Regions from separate parts of the Homo sapiens genome. Here region 2 is linked to region 1. The links are contacts of gene promoters, found by promoter capture Hi-C in human tissues and cell types (Jung and others, 2019). All regions are on one chromosome and are shown on one strand. Each heading gives the region's core, a stretch centred on a gene start or on the middle of the fragment in contact. The rest is flanking DNA. Distances are from core to core; before and after follow the strand shown. Region 1 holds the start of CCK (cholecystokinin). Region 2 has its middle 59 kb from the start of LYZL4.

Region 1 (6,788 bases), core at 1,303-3,802:
CTGTAGCGAGCAAAGGAGGAGGGCGCGTTAACTGAAAGGCTGGGCAACAGAGCTCCTGCGGCGGGCCGGGCACCCAGAAGCGGGCTTAGGACAAACACAGGTGCTCCAGACCCGCCAGGCCGCCGCAAGCACGAGGGCTCGCCAAGCGCTGACCCCAGCCGAGTGCCATGGCGCGCGCCCCCGGGCGCACCTGGCTGGTCTTTGGGAACTCCTCACCCAGCGCCAAGGGGCAGAGACCCTGTTTTCTGCCGTGTTGAGCAGAAGGAATGTTTTTGCTTTCCTAAAGTTTGAGGAAGTGTTTGCAGAGTGCCTCTCTTCTAACCGAAAGAAGAAAAATAAAACCCCACGAGATTAAAAATAGTGTGAAAAAAATATCCTAAAGGGAAGACTCCGTGGGAGAAATGAGAACCCTGGGGAAAGCACTTTTCCAGATAGCTAACAAGCTTTCAATATGGAAATACAGTAAATGATGAAAAAGAGAAGCACAGTTTAAAATGTAGGAGCAATAAATAAAGCCGTATTTATAAAGTTTTTCTCAAAGTGTACGTGGGAAATGGCAATAAGCCACTACGCAGAACATAGGCAGGTTTTAAAATCAGAAATATGTGCCCAGCGCTCAGGCTTCGAAAGCCCCGTGCATTTTAGATCGCTAGTGGATAAAACACCCTCAAGTTTCTATCCGTAAAGCCTCGAAATTTTCTGCAGTATTTAGAAAATGAATTTAAATCTTAAAACCCTCTAATATTTTATTAGAAAAGATTGCAAAGTCCCCCGCACCGCTGTGTAACAGCTAGCAAACTCAATCTGCATGCGAATCTTAGCGAATGGGTAGTTCATCCCTTAATGATGCTGGCGTATGAAAGGCTCTAAAGCAGCTCTACCCACCCAGACCTCACTTTTAGACCCAGAGCCGTTATTTCTGACTTCAAGAAATGTCTTTCGAGCTCTCGGAGGGAAGACACAGAAAATAGAAAAGCATAATGGAAATGGGCACAAAGCTGAAGACAGCATCCTTCAAAGACACACGACACTTGGATCCCCCGCTGACGAACCGAGGGACCTACCTTTTGGATTAGGACGCAGCTGGCTTGGCGTTTCCAACCGGAGCAGCCCGGCAGCTGAGCCAAGTTCAGGGAGGACCAGCGGGCGGCTGTCTCTTAAATAGCCCCACCCGGCGGCGTCGGCCAGTCATGTATTTACCCAACGCTGACGCAGACTGGCAGTAACACGTGCTCAGAGGGCGGCCACTGGGGCGACAACCGGTTGAAGTGGCTCCTGGGAGAGAGGGGGAGGTGGTCTAGTGGGGTGGAGTTAATCCCTCCCACGCGCGGTGCCGGGTGTCCGCCCCCTCTGGGTCCGAGAAGCTTCCGCCCAACCCTTTCCAGGTGCCGCTCCCCTGCGCATTCCAGAGCAGTACTCTCCAAGGTGGGAAACCTAGGAGTTTGGAGTCTCCTCCGGGATGGAGAAGCTGCCGCTAGCTTAGTTCGCTTTGGGGACCGGAGGGGCTAGAAAGGAAACTGGGGGCGGGGGTGGGGGGTGGACACTGGGCAGGACTGAGCATCAGCAAGGCGTGATTCTGAAAGGGAGGGGGCGTCGGCCCCCTACCCCGGAGCGTCCGAGGCGCTGGTCTTCATACCTGTGTCGGCTCTTTCGAAGGAGAGAGGAGGAGTCGGGGTCTTCACTTTCTTCTCAGCCGCATTAAAAGCCCTCGCAGTTCTCCAGGTTTCCGAGGGCCAGTGTTCTGGGTCAGTGAAAGGGCTCTGGCCACAGCTGGCTCTTGGTGTCCTGGGCCTCTCTTGACGCAGCTGTAAAATGCGGATGACACCATCTGGTTTTGCTCAGAGGAATCCGGTTTGGGAAAGGGATGTGTTTTCTTCCCGGGCCAAGTTACCACCACCCGCGGCGCCCACTGTTCCCCGTTGTCGACAAGCGGCGCCAGCGAGGGTCCTGGGGAACTTGACCACCGCACCCCCGCAAGCTCGGGTAGACCACGGCATCCGCCCCTCGCACCTTTCCTGAGGGCCCACACACTCACACCCCCAGGACAGTACCTTCCAGAACTCAGCTGCGCAGCCTGGAGGTGAGGACCTCACCCCTAGTCAGTCACCCGTCCGGTGGAGGGAAGGGAGGCACCGAGGCTGCCGTGCGCCTTTCCCTGCACGCGGTTACTCTCCCGGCTCCGGAGCGGGCCGACCTGGAGCCCCTCAGTGCGCTCTGGTCGTCTACACCCTGAAACCCTTTGAGTTCGAGTCCGCTTGCTGGTGCTTGAGTTCGCCGCGTCCCTGCAAAGGCACTGCCAACCCCATTTCACAGACCGCAAACCGAGGCGCGAGGAAGAGCAGCGCCTTGCCAAGGCTCCACAACACGCCCCTCGCCCTCTCCGTGCACCGAGGCCGCCCAGCCTGGGACCTGGAGATCACCAGGCCTTGAACCTTGGGACCTCAACTCCTCTCCCTTTCTTTCCCCCACCCGTCTTAGATGCAAGGAGAAAGATTTAGAAGCGCTTATTTTAAAATCGGAATCCGTATTCCGCTCTGGAATTCCCTCTGGAATGGAGGGACTGTGGCAACGCCAGTGTGAGGGTGGAGTGGGCGAGGCGGGGTGGGGGGGTTGGGGGGGCGGCCCAGAGACGCCTCCGGTTGCTGCTCCACTTTCTAATCCTGAGAGGCAGCTGCGTTTCTGCAACCTATGGGCAACATGTTTGAAAGAGCTGAAGCTGATTAAATGCTTTCCAGTGGTTTCGCCACGAGCCTGCTAAGGTTTGTGTAGTTCAGTTGCGAAAAAGAGTCTTATTTGTGATTGTGGCAAGACATGTCTGGAAACATAAACTTGTTATCGAAATACCCCCAGAGCTTCTAATTCAGTAGGTCTGAGGAAGGGCCCAAGAATCCGAATTCCTTCCTTCCTTCCTTCCTTCCTTCCTTCCTTCCTTCCTTCCTTTCTTCCTCCTTCCCTCCTTCCCTCCCTCCCTCCCTTCCTTCCTCCCTCCCTCCCTCCCTTCCTCCCTCCTTCCCTCCCTCTCTCCCCTTCCCTCTTTCCCTCTCTCCCTTCCTTCCTTCCTTCCTTCCTTCCTTCCTTCCTTCCTTCCCTCCCTCCTTCCTTCCTTCCTTCCCCCCTCCCTCCCTCCGTCTCTCCTTCTCCCTCTTTCCCTCTTTCTCTCTCTCTTTCTTTCTTTCTTCTTTATTTCTTTCTTTCTTTCTTCATTTCCTTCCTTCCTTCCTTCCTTCCTTCCTTCCTTCCTTCCTTCCTTCCTTCCTTTCCTTGCCTTTCCTTCTTTGAGACAGAGTCTCACTCTGTCGCCCAGGCTGGAGTACAGTGGCATGATCTCGGCTCACTGCAACCTCTGCCTCCCAGGTTCAAACGATTCTCCTGCCTCAGCCTCCCCAGCGGCTGGGATTACAGGCATGTGCAGCCATGCCTGGCTAATTTTTATATTTTTAGTAGAGACAAGGGTTCACCATGTTGGCTAGGTTGGTCTCGAACTTCTGACCTCAGGTGATCTACCCACCTTGGCCTCCCAAAATGCTGGGACTACAGGCGTGAGCCACCACGCCCCACCAAGAATCTACATTTCTAACAAGTTCCCAGGCCATACTGAAAATGCTAGTCCGCCAAGCACACTTTGAGATCATTTCTATAGAAATTCCCTACCTTATACCAGTTACTCAACTCCTGGCCTTGATCCATTTAATTCATGTTTATTCAACACTTACTTTGTGCCAGGCCCCAGGGATTCAGTATGAACAAGAGCTGACAATACAATAGGGGAGCTGAAGCAAACAAGTGGACAAACACTTCTCAACAATTCTGATATTTGGGGACTATGGAGTGGAGATGGTAGGAGGTAATCTTGGAGAAATGTTTTGGTGAGGGGAGCTAGGTGGTAATATGGAAGATGCCCAAAAGGCAGAGGGACTGGAAGGGGAGGGCTGGATAGGAGGCCCTCGGGGATGGGCAAGCAGGAACAATCAAGGTAGATTTGTTTTAGAATAATAAGCCATTATGAAACCCATTAATTATTAGGAAACATAATAAACATTATGCAAGTCATAAGTGTTCATCAGAGAACATTCAGAAAACAAAAGTAGAGAAAAGAAGAAAAATTCCAGCCTCCCAGGGAACAACCTGTTGCTGCTCAGGAAACTGGTAGAGGGAACCGGACTTGGTGACTGAGACTGACCTTGAGTTTCCAGGCTGGGAGACAAGGGTGGGTGGTAGAGTATTATCCAAGACAGGGAATTCAGAAGGAAAAGCAGGCTTGGAGTGTGGCCGTGGTGGTAGTGGGCCAGTGGGGAGCGGGTAATGAGTCCAGTATGGGATTGGTTGATCGTTTGTGCATTGACAGTCTAGGAGGAGTTTGGGAGCCTTTGTCCTGAGCAGAGAGACACTGGAGGGGTGGACCCAGAGTCTGGCATGTGGGTGGTGGCTGCCAGCCTGGGAGTTATAGGGAGAGTTGAGGAAGGCAGCTAGCAATGGGTGGCAGGGTGCCTCTAGACAGACCGCTGAGGAGTGACAGCGTGAAGGAGTGGGTGGAGGAAAAAGAGCTGGTACAGAACCAGACAAGTGGGCCAAGGAGGCCAGCGTGGAAATGCCAGTGCAGAGCCAGAGGTGACAGGGACCATCAGAAGCTGAAGAAGGGCTTGTGCATGGGCCTTTCTCATTTACGATCAAGAGAGCTGCTTGCCTCTTTATTGTAAAATAAAGCAGTTGTAGCCGCTTGTCTCTCAGGAGTGGAAATTCTGAGCAGGAAATGTGTGATAGAAGAGCTGCTAGGAAAATAGAAAGACATAAGGGATCTGAACTCCTTGGCCATAGTCATGATTTTTCCTTCTTACAGGGTCAACAGGTACTAATTATTCTGACTATGGTTCCTAAGCAAGTTAGGCCTGGAGCCGACACTATTCCTGTAATCCAGATGCATATCCGCATTAAAGATAATCCATTTGTTCACTTAAAAAAATGGGCTTGATGTCTCCTGAGGCAGATGCCTTTGGTGCTCCTCACCACAGTTCCACGTTCTCCCTCTGGCTTCAGCTGCAGCCTAGCCAGGCTGGGCAGTTTTCAGCAGACAGCATTCCCACTTCAAGCTTTCAAAGCACCCCTCTTGGCTTATCTCCTTCAAAGTTCAGCCCTTGCAGAGGTTCAGCCTGTAAGTTTGGGTGTTATCTCCCCGAAAGACAATCTTCAGCCAGTGGGGAATGGGAACCCCAGTCTCTCTGTATGAACCCTTCTGGAAGCTTCTAAAGACTTCTCAACGGTCCTTTGCCTGTATCGGTGAACTTGATAACAGCTCTCTCTCTCTTTTTTTTTTCTCTCTCTCTCTCCCTCTCTCTCTTTAGACAGGGTCTTACTCCGTCACCCAGGCTGGAGTGCAGTGGTGCAAACCCGGCTTCCTGGCTTAAACAATCTTCCCACTTCAGCCTCCTGAGTAGCTGGGAACACAGGTGCACACCACCATACTCTGCTAATACTTTAATTTTTTGTAGAGACAGGGTCTCACCATGTTGCCTAGGCTTGTCTCAAATTCCTAGGCTCAAGTAATCCTCCCTTCTCAGTCTCCCAAAGTGTTGGGATTACAAGTGTGAGCCACCAAGCCCAGCTGATAACATCTCTTTAGTTGTTTTTTCCTCCTTCTTTGTCTTACTCTTCTCATTTCTTCCTCCTCTCCCAAATAAACGACATGTACTCAAGTCTGTCTAATTTTAGTATAACCCTATCAAAGACACCAACTGTCTTTCGGGCACTGTTGGGATTCAGTGGTGAGCAAGACAGACAAAATCCCTGTGCTTGTGATGCTTCCATTCTAGTGGAGGAGACAGACAATTTAAAAAATACACAGCAGGCATGGAAGGTGCACACATGTTTTCAAGAAAAGTAGAGTAGGGGGAGGGTCTGTGGAGGACTGGGCACCCGCATGAACGTATGCAAACCACTGCTGGGGGATGCCCTGTTAGGCTGTCTGCTGTGTAGACCTTGCTATGTATGTACATTATGGAGAAATGGTTTTGCTTTTCAGTCCAAATAGAGAAAAAGGAAGTTGTATGGGAGTTCGCACTGTTTGGAGATTGTTTTGTATTTCATCAAATGTGAGACGGTAACTAACTTTTCTGCCAAGCTCATTCTCTTGTCTCAGAAAAGGAATGGAAAAGGCAGTGCCCTCTGTGTCCTTCCCACCACCACCCACTCTTCCCCATCATGGAATGAGACGCACCAGCTGGTCCCTGCCTTTATCTGGAGGACTGAGAGTGGAGGGTGCCATATCCAGATGCCGCGTTGGAAAGGAAATAGTGGAGAGAGGAAACCTGTGACTGTTCACTGGTTTGGAGTCTAGAAATTCCCATCTGATTGCGGTGAAATGAATTTAAGTAAGATCTTGCTCAGAGTTGGGGAGGTATCCCCGAAGATTAGTTCCTGAAACAGATATATTTTCAATACACGATTTTTTTAGTCATGAGACCTAGCTCAAAGACATATGTCAATTTTGTATGTGTAGAAAACTTAGTGGAATTTCCAGGGACATGCTAGAGCCTCCTGATTTATTATTCATAGAATTTAAGCTTGTTACAAGCAAGCCCCACTTACCAGAAGGCAGGAGGCTATTTGCTGTGATCAGAAACGTGATGGTTAGAAGGCTTCTTTTTTGGGTCTTTTTTTTTCCTGAACATGTATTAAAATATTATTATTTGTCCTGGAATTTTTCAAAGTCCACATAGCCAATATCATCTGCCAATATCTGGAATGATTAGACTGAAAAAAGGGAAGTAACTATGGTCATGGTGAAGTGTTTC
Region 2 (6,788 bases), core at 1,634-4,133, 85 kb after region 1:
TGATTGCAGAGCTGGGGACAGGACACTGACAACAGGAAATGGGGAGGTGACAGGATGGAAGTTTAGATACTACCTGAGGCTCTAAGAAGAGATCTAGAATGCCCCACCCCCAAGCCTTGACTCAGAGTGGCAGGGAGAAAAGATGACAGGAGCCTCAGATCTCAGACCCAACATGGTGTGCCAGCTTTAGAGCAGCATTGGTGGACGGAGGTGCCAGGTGGTGAGATGGGCATGGTGCTCCTGGCAGCCTTGAGCCACAGGTGCCACCAGAGAGTACATGCAAGTATCAACAGCCCTAGAGTTGGAACAAAAAGGCTTATAGTGAGAGACACCCTGACCAGGGGCAATGGCAGGGATCATGGCCATCAGCATGAAACTTGCTCTGTACCCAAGACAAGGTAGGAGCCACCAAAGCTTAGTGGACACCAGTGCAGGGAAACCAGCAGCCAAGGTGGGAGTGGGGAGCCACCCAGAGGAGGTTGGCAGGGCCCTGGAGGACAGCACATGGAGCCCAGACCTACCTACCCACCACTCCAGGAGAATCCATGTGTCTTCCCCTGCCTCGAGAGGTGCCTTGGAAAGGAAGAGGGGTAAGGAGATTCCTTGGGAGATGAGTATCATCATTTCAGACAGCAAGCTGAACTTAGAATTAACTGAATATTTACACAAAAGAGACAGTCGAATTAGAAGAGGCAGAATTACCTTTAATTGGTAAATGTAAATGTTTTTTGCTTTTAGAAGGAAATAACTCTAAAGCACGATGTGGTCAAATGTGTGTGTGTGTTTGTGTGTGTGTGTGTGTGCGTGTACACACACAAAATTAATGCATTTCTTATTCTTGGTTAGTAAACTTTGATGCTGCTACATTTGATACAAATGATATACCGGACACTTGGTTATTATAATCTCATTCAAAATCTTATTTTATGGATTAAAAACAAACAAACACGAAAACCCTGAAGCCCAGAGCTGGTAAGGGGCAAAACACTGGAGACAGGCCTGGGTCTTCCGACTTCCTCATCAGTGGTCTCCCCACCACACAGCGTGTTCGTCCTCAGAATCCTTGGGTGTGCACTGTTCCTGGTTGATATGATGAGCTTTGATCTATTTCTTTTTCTTTTCTTTTTTCTTTTCTTTTCTTTTCTTTTCTTTTCTTTTCTTTTCTTTTCTTTTCTTTTCTTTTCTTTCTTTCTTTCTTTCTTTCTTTCTTTCTTTCTTTCTTTCTTTCTTTCTTTCTCTTTCTCTCTTTGTTTTTTGAGACAGGCTGTCACTCTGTTTTTCAGGCTGGAGTGCAGTGGTGCAGTCACAGCTCACTGCAGCCTTAATCTCCCAGGCTCAGGCAATCCTCCCACCTCAGACTCCCAAGAAGCCAGGGTCAGAAACATGTGCCACCAGGCCAGCTAATTTTTTTAATTTTTTGTAGTGTCAGGATCTCATTATGTTGCCCAGGCTGGTCTAGAACCCTTGGGCTCAAGCATCCCTACCACCTTGGGCTCCCAAAGTGCTGAGATTACAGACATGAGCCACCACACTTGGACTGATTTATTTCTAATCATAAAGCACTCAATGGTACAAAATTGTCTAGGAATAAAAGCCCAGGATGATGACAGAAACAGGGAGATGATAAATACTGACTCTTGGAGGAAGAAATGTTCTTCATTTTTCCTGTGTGGATAATCAACTGTGGGCCATCGCAGGAATGTACTCTTTTTACGGGTCTCCGGCCTCATGCCTTATGGATGAAGACTGTCGAATGTGCAGACTGCAGGGACTTTGCCTCCTCCACAGCAGAATCAACACTCAACTCAACCATCCCCTATAAACAGCTGTTGTCCCAGGCTTGGAAGATAGTAAAAATAAATCTGTGATAAGAAGCAGGCTTATCTTCAGGCCTCAGGTCCAAGGGTAAGGCTGAAGATAGAAGCCCCACCCTGTTATCGCTTGACACTCTAGAATCCCCTGGGTTTTTTAGCAAAAGATAACGCAACTGCTAAAACAACCATCACTCAGGAGACAAGGAGCCCCGGCCAGATTTTACCTGATACAAGCAGTCACTCAATATGTGCCTGTCAACACCCCCTCCCTTCCCCAGAGCCTTTCCTACCACATCCAGAGAAACATGGCTTATGGATTCCAAGGACTCTTCAGGGATAAGCCATCTATCTCTGGAGGCTTCCTTAGTGAAAGGGAACTTGGATTTCCTAAATCAGAGAATACTAGCCACTTTGATATTTCAGATCTGCCTCAAACAATCCCTGAAGGAACCATATGTGATTCCTGGAAAGCAACCAAATGTATTCTGAGGGGGCCATATGCCACAGGAAAATAAATCTGAAATACGGCATACTGTATTTTCTTCTTGGAGCTTCATAACCCACATTAGGATATTAAAGGTCCTGAGAAGTCCTGCACTTAAAGACCAAAACTTAAATACTCTTATGCAAAACAGCTTTTCCAGACTTATCTGAGCACAGAGCACAATTTTCCATAGAACGCTTCTTAACCCTCCGCTGATTTGGCCTTCTGCTAGTGTCTGACTGTATCTTTTATGTCTGGGTGGTTAGCATGAGGTTAGCACGTTGTTCCCTTTATCAGCGTTAGTAAATGAACTGAGGAGAGCAGCGCTGGCTGCTCCCAAGTGGGTCCTCAAACAACCCAAGCCAGCAAGAGTCAGACCCCTCACTGCTGAGGTGGGTGGTTTGCCCAGGACAGTCGGGTTTACACTCATTCTTCAAGCACAATGTATTTTTTATTTTTTATTTTTTTTGAGATGGGGTCTCGCTCTGTCACCCAGGCTGGAGTGCAGTGTTGCAATCTTGGCTCACTGCAACCTCTGCCTCCCGAGTTCAAGCGATTCTCCTGCCTCAGCCTCCCGAGTAGCTGGAACTACAGGCGCGTGCCACCATGCCCAGCCAATTTTTGTATCCTTTAAGTAGAGACAGGGTTTCACCATATTGGCCAGGCTGGTCTTGAACTCCTGGCCTCAAGTGATCCACCTGCCTCGGCCTCCCAAAATGCTGGGATTACAGGTGTGAGCCACCACGCCTGACTCAAGCACAATTAATACCTCCTTTTACTCTCTAAAGTGTTTTAGTTTGGACCATGAATTATATGGCACTCCTGCCACTGTGACCATCAGGAGAGCCCTTCCAAAGGCTGCAGACTGGTTGAGGCCCTCGTACTAGAACTGAGTGAGCAAATGAGCTCCAGAAGGTGTGAACCTATAAATGTGGGAGGCCCCAGAGGGGATCAGATGGCTCCACGGTGGGCAAGACATCATCCGGGAGAGAGCCAGCAGGGAGGAGGAGGGCAGGAAGCCAGGACAGTGCCTCAGGGTTGCTATTGGCAGCATTCTACTGCTACTTGGATTTTTTGAATTAAAAAATTGTACTTGAGAGCATAACACATTTTTCTCATGTTTGTGGTTTGGAAGATCATTCCTTTTCCCCTTTGATTTTTAGTAGAATTCTTGAAAATGTCTGCACCAGTTGTGCTGAAGGGAAAAACTGGTGCCATTGACCACAGTGTTTTAAGGGCAGAAGGACAGTCCTGGGCCTGGGCTGTGGAGCTGGGGATGTGTTGGACAATTCCCAAGGGGTGGATAATAGCTCGGGGGGAGAGGCAGGACAAGTGAAGTTCCGTGATAAGAGGGGGAACTGAAGCTGGACCTTGAAAGGTTGGGGAGGACTTGTGGAGATGAGAGTGGGGAAAGGTAGGTGTCCCAGACAGAGGGAGCAGCATAAGATACTGTATGAGTTTCCTATTGCTGCTGTAACAAATTATTGCAAACTCAGTGGCTTAAAGCAACCCAGATTTACTATCTCACAGTTCCGGGGGTCGGAAGTCTGAAATGGATCTCACTGGGCTAAATCAAAGTGTCAACAGGCTGTGTCCCCTTATGGAAGCTCTAGAATTGAGTTCTTGCCTTTTCTAGCTTCTAGAGGTAGCCCACGTTCCCTGGCTCAAGGCTCCCTTCCATCTTCAAAGCCAGCAACAGCTGGTCGAGTGTTTCTCACATTGCATCACACTGACTGACCACTGTCACCTCCGTCTCTCATGTAAGGATCTGGTGATTACACTGGGACCCCTGCTGCATAATCCAGGACACCCTCCCCACTTCAAGATCCTTAATTTGACCACATCTGCAGAATCGCCTTTGCCATGTGAAGTAACACATTCACAGGCTCCTGGGACTAGGGAGTGGATATCTTGGGTGGGGGGCATTATTTCGTCTACCACACATGCCAAGTAAGGACAGTGTCCTTGCAAAATAGGAAAAGTGAATAGTCCATTTGCCTGGATTGGAAGGAATGTATGAGGAAAGATGTGGAACCAGAAGTATAGACTGGAGATTCAGGAAGGGAGAGAAACGTTTCCTCGATTCTCTTCAGAGGGCCTAAGTGGCCATGGACCACATCCTTTGCTCAGGCTGCTATTGTGATGCCAGGGCGGCAGCCATGGGGCAAGGTCAGCAGACACCTCCATGAGGGCCTACATGGTGGAAAGGCACAGGCTTGTAAACTCAGGATCCTGAGGAGCTCAACTCATTAAAAGCAGATTCTCATCTGGGAATCACCTTTTCTCTTCAGTGGCAGTAATAGAACTCTTTTTTCAAATTAAATTCATATGTAAACAGGTTAAAGCAGAGCCATTCAGGCTAATACAGGGCAAAGGGTCCCCAGAACCACCTAGTCCTCTGCCCATAGAGGCTCCTGGGGCACATCCCCAGGATGCGGGACACAGCAGGAAAACCTGTAGCAAAGTTCAGAAGGCTGGGTGGTGAACAAGGACTCAGAAGGTCTAGGAGGAAATGAATGTTCTAAAGTGTGAGGGAATATGGACATAGTTGCTCACAGCAAGGTTCACACATGGGTCTTAGTTTGAGCTCCCCCAGAAGCTGACCCTCAGATAAGGATATGAGTGCAAGTAGTTTATTTGGGAAGTGGAAGGAACATGGGTAGGTGAAGAAGAAAGATATTTGAGCAAGGGAAGGCAGCTAGTAAGTGTGTGCTGTCACACCAGCTACTGCAATATGGAACTGGTGCTTAAGCTTAAGAGGAAACTCTGGGAAACAGTGAAAGGTAACAAAGCTGGGGAATTCACACCTGCCAGTCATGGCTTAAGGACTGGCCCAGATGGTAATTCCCTGGTTCTTCCCACTCCTTCCCTCCTGCAGGCAACAAAGATGGCTGATGGCAGTCAGGCTGACACCATGCGCTGAAATAGCAAGGGTCTCTGATGGGATATGGGTGAACACTTTCAGCTGCCTCAGGATGGTCTTATCAATGAGTCTGGTGACAGCAGAAGTGTTCATTCTGCCTAATTCTCCATCACCACCCATCAGCGTCCAGGTTTATGGCGAGACCACCCTGCATCCTGCTCTGCAGTCCTCAGACCAACACCGACTGGGGGGACAGTTGTCATTTTTGGCTGCCTATTCCCCATGGCCCTCACTACAGCACTGAGTTTTTCTATCACAAAATGATTTCTCCGTGTAGGGAGAAAGAAGCCTTCTTAGAGTCTCTGTCTCTTGGTGATCTGAAATATCCATCTCCATGCGATCAAAAGGCATCCAAGTCTGGGCACAGAGAGAAGAAGCATTCCTAATTCCAGAAGTTCCTGAGAGAACAGGGCCAGCTTTCTGGCAGAACAGAGATGTGAACTCAATGTCCTTTGGGAAATTAGCTTTAGTTCTGTACCAAGAGCCTATAATTATACTGACCAGGCTAGGGTACTTGAAATGATGATTAAGGCATGAATGAAAAATAAAAGATCCCTTTGTTTTTATGCTCATTATGCCTCTTTTTGATGACTATGCAAAAAAAAAAAATGCCTTTCAAACAATTAGCTTAATTAGCAGATTGTATTTTCATTCCCAGCTCCAAGCCAAGTGCCCAGCAGTTGATCATAGCTGGGTAAGGATGCACTGGCCCTGCCTACCTTCCTCCTCCCACCCACCTCCATGTTCCAGAACATGGCATTTGGGGTTGATCTTTACCTTGGCCCATCTCCCAGCAGCCCTTGGGCTGAGTTCATTGCAGTCTGTGGGCCCAGCTCTGCCTGGACAGCCCTGGCTCCTCAAGACAGGAGTCTGTTTGAGGGAGGGAAGGAATAGGTGGAAACCAAGCTTCCTAGTCTGATAATGCAATCCAGTGTAATCTGGCCCCAGCCTACATCCCAGGTCCACACACCCTTCCTAGAAGCCATCCCCACTCTCTGGCTCCATGTCTCTGGTCTGCTGTCCCTTCTCCCACCCTACTTGTGCATCCCAGATTCTACCTGTGCCTCAGGGTGGCTTGCCTCCTCTATGAGGTCTTTCTTGTTTCTTTTAAGGCCTTTTGCCTGTACTTCTCCCATTATCCTCACCACTTTAAAATGGATTCAATTAAAAAGGCAATAGATGAGCTTATTCTTAATAGAAAACATTAAGAAATGAATAATTATCTAGAAAAAAGTAGGAACTCCTCCACCACTGCCTCCCTACTCCCCACCCCTTCCCCGAGGAAATCACTGGGAACAGTCGACCACACAATGAATGTTATGCAGTGCTTGCTTCTTTCGTTTAATAGAATACATCTTGGACATTTTCCATATCCAGGACTTACAGGTCAGCTTAACTCTTTTCAGTGGTTGCTGAACTGCCCCATCTGTTACCAGCCCACTATGGATGGTCAAGGGAATTTGTAACTAATGGAGTTAGAGTGCAGGTGTTTGGGAATGAATTTACTCCTTTTCCTCCTCCTCCTTTCTTCTTCTTCACCCTCCTCCTCTTCCTCCTTACCTTCCTC

What was found. Contacts are between HindIII fragments. The study calls those that stand out against the background at their distance.
Region 2: a fragment that was not itself captured here is called in contact with the fragment with the promoter of CCK in region 1 in 2 of the 25 tissues and cell types used here (H1 embryonic stem cells and pancreas).

The regions. Positions count from the first base shown.
Region 1 is chr3:42,263,633-42,270,420 of GRCh38, forward strand. CCK (cholecystokinin) reads right to left here and starts at 2,553. Exons shown (of 5, transcript NM_000729.6): 1 at 2,052-2,553; 2 at 1,637-1,805; 3 at 1,065-1,275. The HindIII fragment of the contact is 4,994 bases long and covers 904-5,897 here.
Region 2 is chr3:42,348,013-42,354,800 of GRCh38, forward strand. No RefSeq gene overlaps it. Among named protein-coding and RNA genes, the nearest start is that of LYZL4, 59 kb to the right of the region's middle. The HindIII fragment of the contact is 5,410 bases long and covers 179-5,588 here.